Linked DNA regions of Homo sapiens: region 2 is linked to region 1. Evidence: promoter capture Hi-C in 16 types of primary human blood cells and fetal thymus (Javierre and others, 2016). All regions are on one chromosome and are shown on one strand. Each heading gives the region's core, a stretch centred on a gene start or on the middle of the fragment in contact. The rest is flanking DNA. Distances are from core to core; before and after follow the strand shown.

Region 1 (5,050 bases), core at 1,910-4,409:
CAAAAATTAGCCAGACGTGGTGGTGGGCACCTGTAATCCCAGCTACTCGAGAAGCTGAGGCAGGAGAATCACTTAAACCCAGGAGGTGGAGTTTGCAGTGAGCCCAGATTGCGCCACTGCACTCCAGCCTGGGTGACAGAGCAAGACTCTGTGTCAAAAAAAAAAAAAAAAAAAAAAATAACCTAGAGAGATACGGTCTCCTGGAGGCCCCTATCAAGTGGCCTTGGGATTCAGATATCCTGACTTCTCATCATTCACTTCTTGCTCTCACACTGACCGTTTATCATGAACTTGAGTTTGGTTAAGTCATTAATCAGTAGTTCATAGGAACTGAGTTCCACCTCCCCCAGGGTCAGAAACTATCCTGCCAGCCTCTTCCTCACCCCTGACCTCCAGCTCTGTCCCAATTTCAGATGCAGGTTAGGGGTAGGATGGATTAGGATAGACGGAGCCAGAAGGAGACCTGGCAGCTAAGCTCAGAGTTCCCACCCAGCTTCCTTTCCACCCCAGCTCCCTCACTCCTACACGATTTACTGAGGACTTAACTAGCTTTTCTGCCAAATCAGGAGGTGTAGGATTTGATGATTAGAGCAGGATCTAGGAGCCATATATGTGAAACTCAAGGCAGGAGGAGATCCAGAAGGGAGGAGCTAGGGTGAGAAGGTAAAGGAAGTCTCCTCCCACCCGCACAGTGTGTCTTCCTGCCAGGTGAGGAGGTCCCAGTGTGAAAGGGTTGTCGGGAGGCCTTGAGATCTGCTCACCCTCATACGTCCAGTGTTGACCTGCAAGGCAGAATAGTTTGGGTTACAGCCAGCGCAGCCTGGGGCAGAACCCTGGCCTCCACACTCCCCTCCCTCTGGCATTCTGTACTGCTCCACCTCCCTCTCTGCAGTCTCTCCTCCCTCTGCTCCAGCACTTTGCAAAGGAAGCCCTGAAACCGGACACCTCTGTGGAAAGGTCGGGGGGCCTATTTAAAATCACCAGCCAGGCTGTGTTGGTGCCTGCCGAGTAAAAGGGGAGGAGGAAGGAAAAGAGGTAAAGCCCAGAGACTAAAATTAACCTGGATCCAAATGTGCGATTGGCCCAACCCTTTCTTTTCTGTAACCTGTGCCAAGTCAATCTAACACTTAGAAGATTGGGGTGGGTGGGGTGAGGGTGTGGGCAGAGGGTTGGAAGGATAGGGACTAGAAAGCGGGGAGGAGAAAGGAGTTTAGAGTGTGTGTGTGTTGGGGGGTGCTACTGAGGGGAGAAGGGGAGATTATTCCTTTGCTTTAAAAAATTGCATGAATAAAGCCACTGAGCTGTAAACTCATATGTAAATTCTTCTTTTCTGGTCCCATTAGCTCTAGAGGAAACTCCTCATCACCAGGAGGCTCTGCTCCCTACATTCTGAGATGGTTAGGGAAGGGTGGGAGTCAGGGCAGGGTCTACTCTAGATTGAGGGTGGTGGGTGGGCACAGGCAGCCAGGCTGGCAGGGACAGGATGAAAGTGAAGCATTGTGTGTAGAGAAGAGAGCTGCCAGCTGGGTCACATGCCAGGCTCTCGTGCAGTCCTGTCTGACGCAAAGGCTGAGGGTCTGCAGGTCCAGCCCCTCCCTACGGCCAAACTGCCTCAAGAAGAAAACGAAGGCCTTCATGGTTTATGCTGCAATATTCATACTACTAGAAACTCTGGAGAAAAATCCTAAATTCCTTCCTCTCTCTGTCTCTTATTCCCTTAAATTCCTCAAACTTGTGAGATGTCCTGCTCTTATCCTTGACCTATTCTGCTAGCCCAAGGGAGAGCTGGAGGCAGCCTCTCATTTTACCATATCTGTGGGACCCCCCAACAACTCAAACTCCCTGGTCTGTAAAGGTGCCTGTCCACTCTGGTCAGAGCCTCAACACACTTATTCTGTCTCTTCCTCCTCTTTCCCTCTTTTTTTCTTTCTCCTCAGATGAGATTTGTGACTCTCCATTTGGCTGCCTGCCTGCCCCCATCCTCTCTGCATTTGCCTTCTGCTCTCTGGACACCCACCTCACCCTGCTCTTTCCACAAACCTCAGTTACACACCTAGTATGTGCTGGACACTGTGCTAGGCACAGGAAACACAAAAATGAGGTCTAGGAGTTCCTGGGGACACTCCTGGAGCGCTTCAGCCTGTTCTCCCAAGAATCCCTCCTCATCTCCTGGGAGCTCCTGAAAGTCCTTTGTAAACTGTAAAATGTCAAACAAATGTTGACTCTTACTGCCACTTTCAGAGGATAACTGGGGAGTTAGTCGCTCCACAGAATGAAGAGGGAATCTTGGCCAAAAGGGGATGAATTGGAGATCAGGGTCTGAGTTGGGCAGGAAGTATTCTTCCCCCTACCCCCATCTATCCATCTTTTTACTCCAGGCCTCTTTGACTCCCTATTTGGAGGAGTTTGTAAATAAAGAAGTCCAGGAGTCCTGCCTGGGACCAGGGCAGTGGGGGAAAGAGCTCTGGAGAAAATCTGTAGCCTGCAAAGAGATTCCAGCACTTGCATGTGTACACACTCTGCCTGCCTGCCGCTAGTTCTCCCCGACCTCCAATAACAACAAGGCTGGAGAGACAAAAGGTAAAGAAGGGAAGTGGTCTCCTCCACACCCCACTCTTTTTTCCTCATCTCTGAGCCTATTATTCCAGCCTCTAGGCTTCCTTTCACACCTCTCCTCCCCCCATTAAGCACACCTGGCGACATGTGAACATCAGCACAAATCCACACACAGACATTTAGTTGTACCTACCCCCATCTGCAGCCAGGATCCAAATCACCTCCAGCAGGAGGGCGGAGAACAACATAGTGTCCCAGGAAGGGGTGCAGGGGACTGGGAATTTGAGGACTAGAGGACTAGGACAGGCAGAGAGAGAGGGAGGGAGGAGTGAGAGAGAGAGAGAGAGAGCGAGCGAGCTCCTGGCGTGAGTGTATTTATCTCTGCTTCTCTTGCTGTCTCTGTCTCTGTGGGCTTCCAGGGGATTCGGTGTTCAGTAGGGTATCATGGGTTTCTGGATCCCCAGGACAAATCTCTTGCTGCCTCTTTGCCCTCTCTCTTTATCTCCCTCTGCAGTCTCCACTCCACTAGCTGGCCAGCGACTTTACAACTGCCTCCTGCTTTTAAGGTGGCTCTGAACTGGTGTATGTGGGGACGGGGGTGCTGCCTGGGCTGCTGGTGAACAGCTCCTTAAATAGCCAATTAGGCATGCAGGATGGCCCCACTCGGAGCTGGAGCGCGGCAAGTTTCACTGGAGCCCTGGCCCTGGCTCAGGAGCCCAGCTGGGGTGAGCTCTTCCTTCCTCTGCTAGTCACACAGATGCTGTTTAGATGGGTGTTCCCTGGAGCAGGCAGGGTCAAGGAAGGGGCTTTGGGGTTCAACTCAGCCCCCTCAAAAGGACACTGTATTTTCATCCCCCCGCCTGATTTCTCCTCTGAGGAGCAGCTCCCTGGGTGGTATGCGGCAGATGGTGGGGGTACCTGTTCCCAATTCCCTGCATAATCTGAGCTGCCCTGGAATGGGAAGAGTCCAGAATTAGGAGATATATAACAAGAAGGAATTAGGGACTCAGGGTGCAGGGGAGGGGTGGAGGAAGTCAATAACTAAAACCTGAGTTGTGTCCTAAGTTCTAAGGAAGAGAAGTGAGGCAAGGAGAACTCATCTGGAGCAATCTCTTCTGTGCCTGCCACCACCCCCTTCCCACGGTGAGGCCTGGGTCCACGTGCCTGTGTGGCCTGGGGTGGGGGGAGTGCGGGGAGGGAGCGTTGTTTGCTGGATAAAGCCCATTTGTATGCCCAGTGGGGGAGGGGTGTAGCAGCACCATGGAGAGACAGCGGCTGTAACTGCCAGACCCAGCCACCTCCCTCTCCAGGGAGCCCAGATCTAGGGCGGCTTTTGTCACTGAAGAGGACACTGACCTCCGGCAGAGAGGCCAGGGCAGGAGGAAAGGAGAGACTTTAGGAACAATCACTACCACCATCAGAAAAAGGTGGTTTCCAGAGAAAGAGAGGGGAGGGTCTGGAGAGACCATGTGATCCAGATGGAAGAGGGGCTCAGGGTCTTCCTTCCAGCCCAACAAAGGGCTGAGGCAGGACATGTGGCACTGAATGAAACCTGCCACCAAGGAGCTGCGTCCGTGGAGCATGGAGGCTGCACGTCTCAGGAATGTGAACTGATGTTTGCTCCCCACGGGACTGGAAATCCCGATTGGAATGTACATCCTAAATCCCTCGTTAGAGAATGTGAAACCCACAGATACTTTCAAGCCAGACATTGAAACCTCTTTCTCCTCCATGCTCTTCACCAGAGGCACCAGCCAGGAGGATGCACCCATCTGAAGCTCCCTCTGCCCTCCTTGCTCCTGCCGAGTAGCAATAAATAGCCAAACAAAGGGAGCAGAAGCTAAATAAGGGAGCAGGATAAAAGCCAAATGAACAGAATAATGCATGTGCTGGATCATCAGCTCCTGCAGAGACAGGAGCTCACTGTGCCTTTCTATCCCCTGTGATTGATCTGCAAAGCCAAGCCATTTTGCTGATGTCATTTCCCTTTTTCTTCTCCTATCACCCTCTGAGTTATTTGTCCCCTTCAGGAAAGTTTTATGTTTTGAGGTTCCCCAAAGCCCCATCCATCCCATCTAAGAAGAGTAAAAGACTTGAAGTATAAATTAGATTTCCCGGGAATCAGGGTACTTAACACAAAGAAACAAAAAAAGAAAGCAGAGACATCTTGGTATGAAAGAAGAGATTTAGTAGGAAAGAAGAGGTCTGAACAGAATGACCTCTGCCGGAACAGAGTTCCCCTGGAGCGCTGAGCTGAGATTCCGATTTCCAAGGCAGATAGCGTGTCTTGCCAGGCGCCACCTCCTGGCTCGTCTATGAATTTTTAAATTTTAATTTAAAATGCTTTGTGTATGTGGTTCCTTCTGGGAGGTATTTCACTGCTGCTGGGCTTTGGGATTTTGCCTACGCAACTGAACATTGTTTCACAAAGATATCTTAGCCTGGAATCAACACTTCCCTGATCTTGGGTGAGCAACGCATCCAGGTGCTTATG
Region 2 (4,624 bases), core at 233-2,732, 550 kb before region 1:
GGAGTGTAAACCAAATACGAAGCCCTCTTGCAAAGTAGCCTCTTTCATCCCATACTCAAAATACCCAGTTTAGCAAGCAACTGAGATTTAAGTCTCTCTGGCCCTAAGAGGTTTTTCCTCTTTGCTCCCTCCAATCTTGAGATTGGGTTTTGCTTTAGAGTGCAAGTATCATAATTCCGTATGATAGATGGGGCCTGGACACCCATCTCAACAGGGTCACTTGGTAATTAACAATAGCCATATAAATGCGGATACAGGTTACTACCCTCACCCTTTACCTTCCTCAGGTAACAGTCGTAGATACCAGCTTTTTTTTTTTTTTTTTTAAATTGGCTTTGGCCAGTAGCTAAAGTGCAAGACTGAATTAATGAGAAGATATATTAAATGTAGTCATAGGGGACTGAGGAGCAAGGGTGGCCTTGAAGAGGCCAAAGGAATGTCCATTTGCTGAGTTTCCCTTCCTTATGTCTCCAGTCTGGTGCCAGGTAGTGGAGTAAAAAAGGAGACAGTTTATTTTTTTATTCTATGTGCACACTTACAGTATACATATATATTTATATCACAATTTACGAAACCAAAAAGTTGAGTTTCCAATGGAACCCTTGTTTTTTAATAATCGACTTTTTAAATGTGATCAGGACTATAATATTGTACAGTTATTATAGGGCTTTTGGGGAAGGGGAGGATAGCGAGAAGATGCTCTGGGGGTTTTGTTTTTGCTTTTCCTTCAGGGTTTTATTTTTGACTGTTTTGTTTTCTTGTTGGCCATTTCTGTATTGCTGGCATCTGTGCTAAGCTTTACAGTGGCAAAAATAATGACATGTAGCAAAGATTTTCAAACAAAATATTTTTTCCTTTTGTAAAATTTCTTGTGTTGTGTGATCTTGATTGCGGCTTTATCATTCCTTTCCAGTTCATAAACAACAGGCACCCACAACCAGAGGAATCTATAGTTTAAGCTCCAGACATACAAACATAAGGCACATTGTGTCTTTAATTTCAGGAATCAGAAATCATAGGGTTCTGATCACATTGCACGCCTCCCCCCTCACTTGTCCTCCTGATCCTGACACATTCTGAGTAACATCAGCAGGAATGCTCTGACCATGAGGTGGGGGTTTTGGGGTGGGCGTTGCCTGGGTTCTTGGGAGAGAGGGGAAGAGTCGGGACTTGAAAACCACTAGGGCACATCTGGATGCCTTCCCCCAGTATGTCCTTTTCTGGATTAAAATGAGTGAAATTTAAACTGTTCAAGTCTGGACCTGGTTTCCCTCTAGGAGACTATGTTGGTTCATTAGCAACTTTTTTTTTTTTTTTTTTTTTTGTGTGTGTGTGTGTGTGTGTGTGTGAGAGATGGAGTCTCGCTCTGTTACCCAGGCTGGAGTGCAGTGGCACGATCTTGGCTCACTGCAACCTCTGCCCCTTGGGTTCAAGCAATTCTCCTGCCTCAGCTTCCCAAGTAGCTGGCACTACAGGTGTGTGCCACCATGCCCAGCTAATTTTTGTGTTTTTTTTTTTTAGTAGAGATGGGGTTTCACTATATGTTGGCCAGGCTAGTCTCGAACTCCTGACCTTAGGTGATCCACATGCTTTGGCCTCCCAAAGGCCTGGGATTACAGGCGTGAACCACTGCGCCTAGCCTGTTAGCAGCTCTTAAAATCCAGAGGCATAAGCCTGTATTTTTGAGGGTTTATGCATGGAATCCAGCTAGAAACTGAGTCTATTACAGATCCCATTTATTATCCTTTCTATTCCAAGAAGCCTTTTTTTCTCCTTCCCCACATCTGTTTATGGAAGAAAATGAAGTTTGGGGTGTGGTTTGAGGAATCAGCTAGATTCTTATGATCTGTCACATGCTTGGATGTTGGGGAAGCATTTGGAGAAGCTCATGTGACTTGTCCTAGATTGGGGATTTTAATTGAGACAGATGATGTTTATCGGGCATCCCACCACCTGAGAGTTTTAGCAACAGAGTCACATGTGAGTCCATCAGAACTTACGGCATTGATTCAAGTGCTGTCATAAATAACCAGGACTGCTGTTTTTGGTTACTTTTAAAGACAGTTTCATCTGGACTTTCTGGGCATATCCTCCTTCAGCAAAACCACATTAGGCTGGGAAAACTATTCTGCCTGGAAGTAATGACAACTTGCAACCAACAAGCTTATAAAAATACAAAGAATTCTGGAGCCTATGGCTTCCATTACATTATTCTTTTATAGCCTTTTATGTTCATTACCGCATCCCAGAGGTGAGAGTCAGACACAAATATGAAAATAGGTTTCAATGTTGGAGAGGTAAATCCTAACAGGAAAGGGGTAGGAAAAGATATAATCCCCCAATATTAAAATAAAGATATTGAAGAAGAAGGATGGGAGAGACTAGGGCTGTGTCCTTCCTTTTACTCACCAAAAGAGAAAGTAAGCTCCTATTTGAGTCAATAGATATTGAGGTCTTGTTATTTGCCACCAAAGACAGTCTTGTGAGACTAAATAGCTAGTAATTCCCTACCCTGGCACACATGCTGCATACACACAGAAACACTGCAAATCCACTGCCTCCTTCCCTCCTCCCTACCCTTCCTTCTCTCAGCATTTCTATCCCCGCCTCCTCCTCTTACCCAAATTTTCCAGCCGATCACTGGAGCTGACTTCCGCAATCCCGATGGAATAAATCTAGCACCCCTGATGGTGTGCCCACACTTTGCTGCCGAAACGAAGCCAGACAACAGATTTCCATCAGCAGGTAACGTTTGCAACTTCCTAGATCTTTTAGCTTTTCATTCCTGTCAATTCTCTGAGTATTAGGGATGTAGTGACTTGAGGATCACAATAAACTTTTAGCCTCTGCAGATGAAAACAGAGATGCACTTCTTAGGTCATTCCCTGGCTAAATAAAATCTGCCTGGAAATCTGTAGAATTCCTTGTATGATTTATATATATACATACATGATTGTTAGTAAAAGCAAAGTATATAGGGAATCATTTCCCCATCCTTCAAGAGTGGCCTTTCTGCAGTGTTTTCTACTTTGGCCAACAAGGATCAAAACGGTTAACTCCTTAGTGAGGAGGAGGAGAGTGGTATGGGGAGGTAGTAGCTCAGTGCTTCCTGTTCACTGAGACATCTCAAAGCCCTTAACACTCTAGTTTTTAAATGTCCTACTGGACATTTTGCCAGTTTGCAAAATTACATGTAAATGGACTATAAGCAATTGTGTAAGCCATATGTCATGCTGCAGGCTGCAAATTGTTCTTAAAATGGAGGATTTGTAATTAAGAAAGCCAATGCAAGAAATGAGTGAAGCTAACTAGAGTAAACTTATGAAAAGCTGTGAATTTCATCATCATAGAACATTGCTTTTCAGTCTGAACATTCTTCTAACAAACCTTGGATCTGAGGCTTCTTGTCCTTTGCGGCAGCCACAGTGGGTTTTTGTTGTTAGGGGAAAAATAAAAAACCTTGCCCGCAGCATCTGGTTAAGATTAGGGCAGTTTCCTGCCTAAGGAGGGAAGGGAGAGAAAAAGGAAGAAGAAATGCATAAGGAGAATGAGGAGATATACAATGTCTCAGAAAACAGGAAACATTGTCCTATTTTCCCTTGTCCTCTTCTGACAAGATCTGGGAAAGTACCAGAATTTAGGCACGAAAGAGAAGAACGCCTCGAAGAAATGATCAGGAGGCAAAACTTAGACGGAAATCTCTCCTTTGTGTATTCTGAACCCCACTACCACCTTGCTATTTGTCTGTCTCCAAGCCTGCTAGGGACCCTGGAGGAAACGCACTGAGCCCATTCTGATTGTCCAGTTTCTATCCCCCATTTCTGGTTGTGTACGTGTGTGTGTGTGTGTGTGTGTGTGTGTGTGTGTGTGTGTGTGTGAGAGAGAGAGAGACAGAGAGAGAAACAGAGAGAGTGTGTGTTGCCTAAATCTCCCGAGAGAGAGAGAGAGAGAGAAAGAGAGAAATGGCTAAATCCCCCTAGATCAAAGTCCTTGGAACCAGATGTACCAGCATCCTATCTAAACACAGGCCCCTCCTGACTATCATTGTTTTATCACCCTTTTTCCGTCTACCTTTCTCTTCCTCATAAAGCCTAGTTTTCCTCTGTTTCCCTGCCAAATGGAAGAGTTTTCCCTAACTACATTCTTCTGCAGGATGTGGGGGCTCAAGGTTCTGCTGCTACCTGTGGTGAGCTTTGCTCTGTACCCTGAGGAGATACTGGACACCCACTGGGAGCTATGGAAGAAGACCCACAGGAAGCAATATAACAACAAGGTGCCTGGGGTCCTGGAGGGGGCATGGCAGGAAGGCTGAGACCTGAGCTCTCTCATCTTAGCTTCCAGACTCCCTTCTTCAATCCAAATGCTTTATTCCAAGCAAATCAGTCCCTCTTCCCTAACTCATGTTAACATACGGTTTTCATTCCTATGCTTCAAATCATCCTCTGTCAAACTGTATCCTTCCTTTGCTTTATAAGTGTGTTACATTTCTCTTTTGGGAAGAGTTCTAAGATTAATGCTGTTAATCTATAAGCAATTTTTCTGTCTCTCCAGAGCTTTGTGTTGTATTTGTTTACATATTATCTCTTCTTGCAGGCTCTTAATTCCATGGTTAGTTCCCCAACTA

Evidence for each region. Contacts are between HindIII fragments. The CHiCAGO score rates a contact against its expected background, and 5 or more counts as called.
Region 2: a contact is called between a fragment that was not itself captured here and the fragment with the promoter of CA14 in region 1, in 1 of 17 cell types (endothelial precursors). The highest score is 6.5, in endothelial precursors.

The regions. Positions count from the first base shown.
Region 1 is chr1:150,255,883-150,260,932 of GRCh38, reverse strand. CA14 (carbonic anhydrase 14) reads right to left here and starts at 3,159. Exons shown (of 11, transcript NM_012113.3): 1 at 2,750-3,159; 2 at 762-782. The coding sequence starts at 2,804. RefSeq lists an enhancer at 4,275-4,969. The HindIII fragment of the contact is 8,593 bases long and covers 1-5,050 here.
Region 2 is chr1:150,806,335-150,810,958 of GRCh38, reverse strand. CTSK (cathepsin K) reads left to right here and starts at 2,699. Exons shown (of 8, transcript NM_000396.4): 1 at 2,699-2,745; 2 at 4,153-4,273. The coding sequence starts at 4,154. ARNT (aryl hydrocarbon receptor nuclear translocator) reads left to right here. Exons shown (of 22, transcript NM_001668.4): 22 at 1-1,246. The HindIII fragment of the contact is 1,367 bases long and covers 799-2,165 here.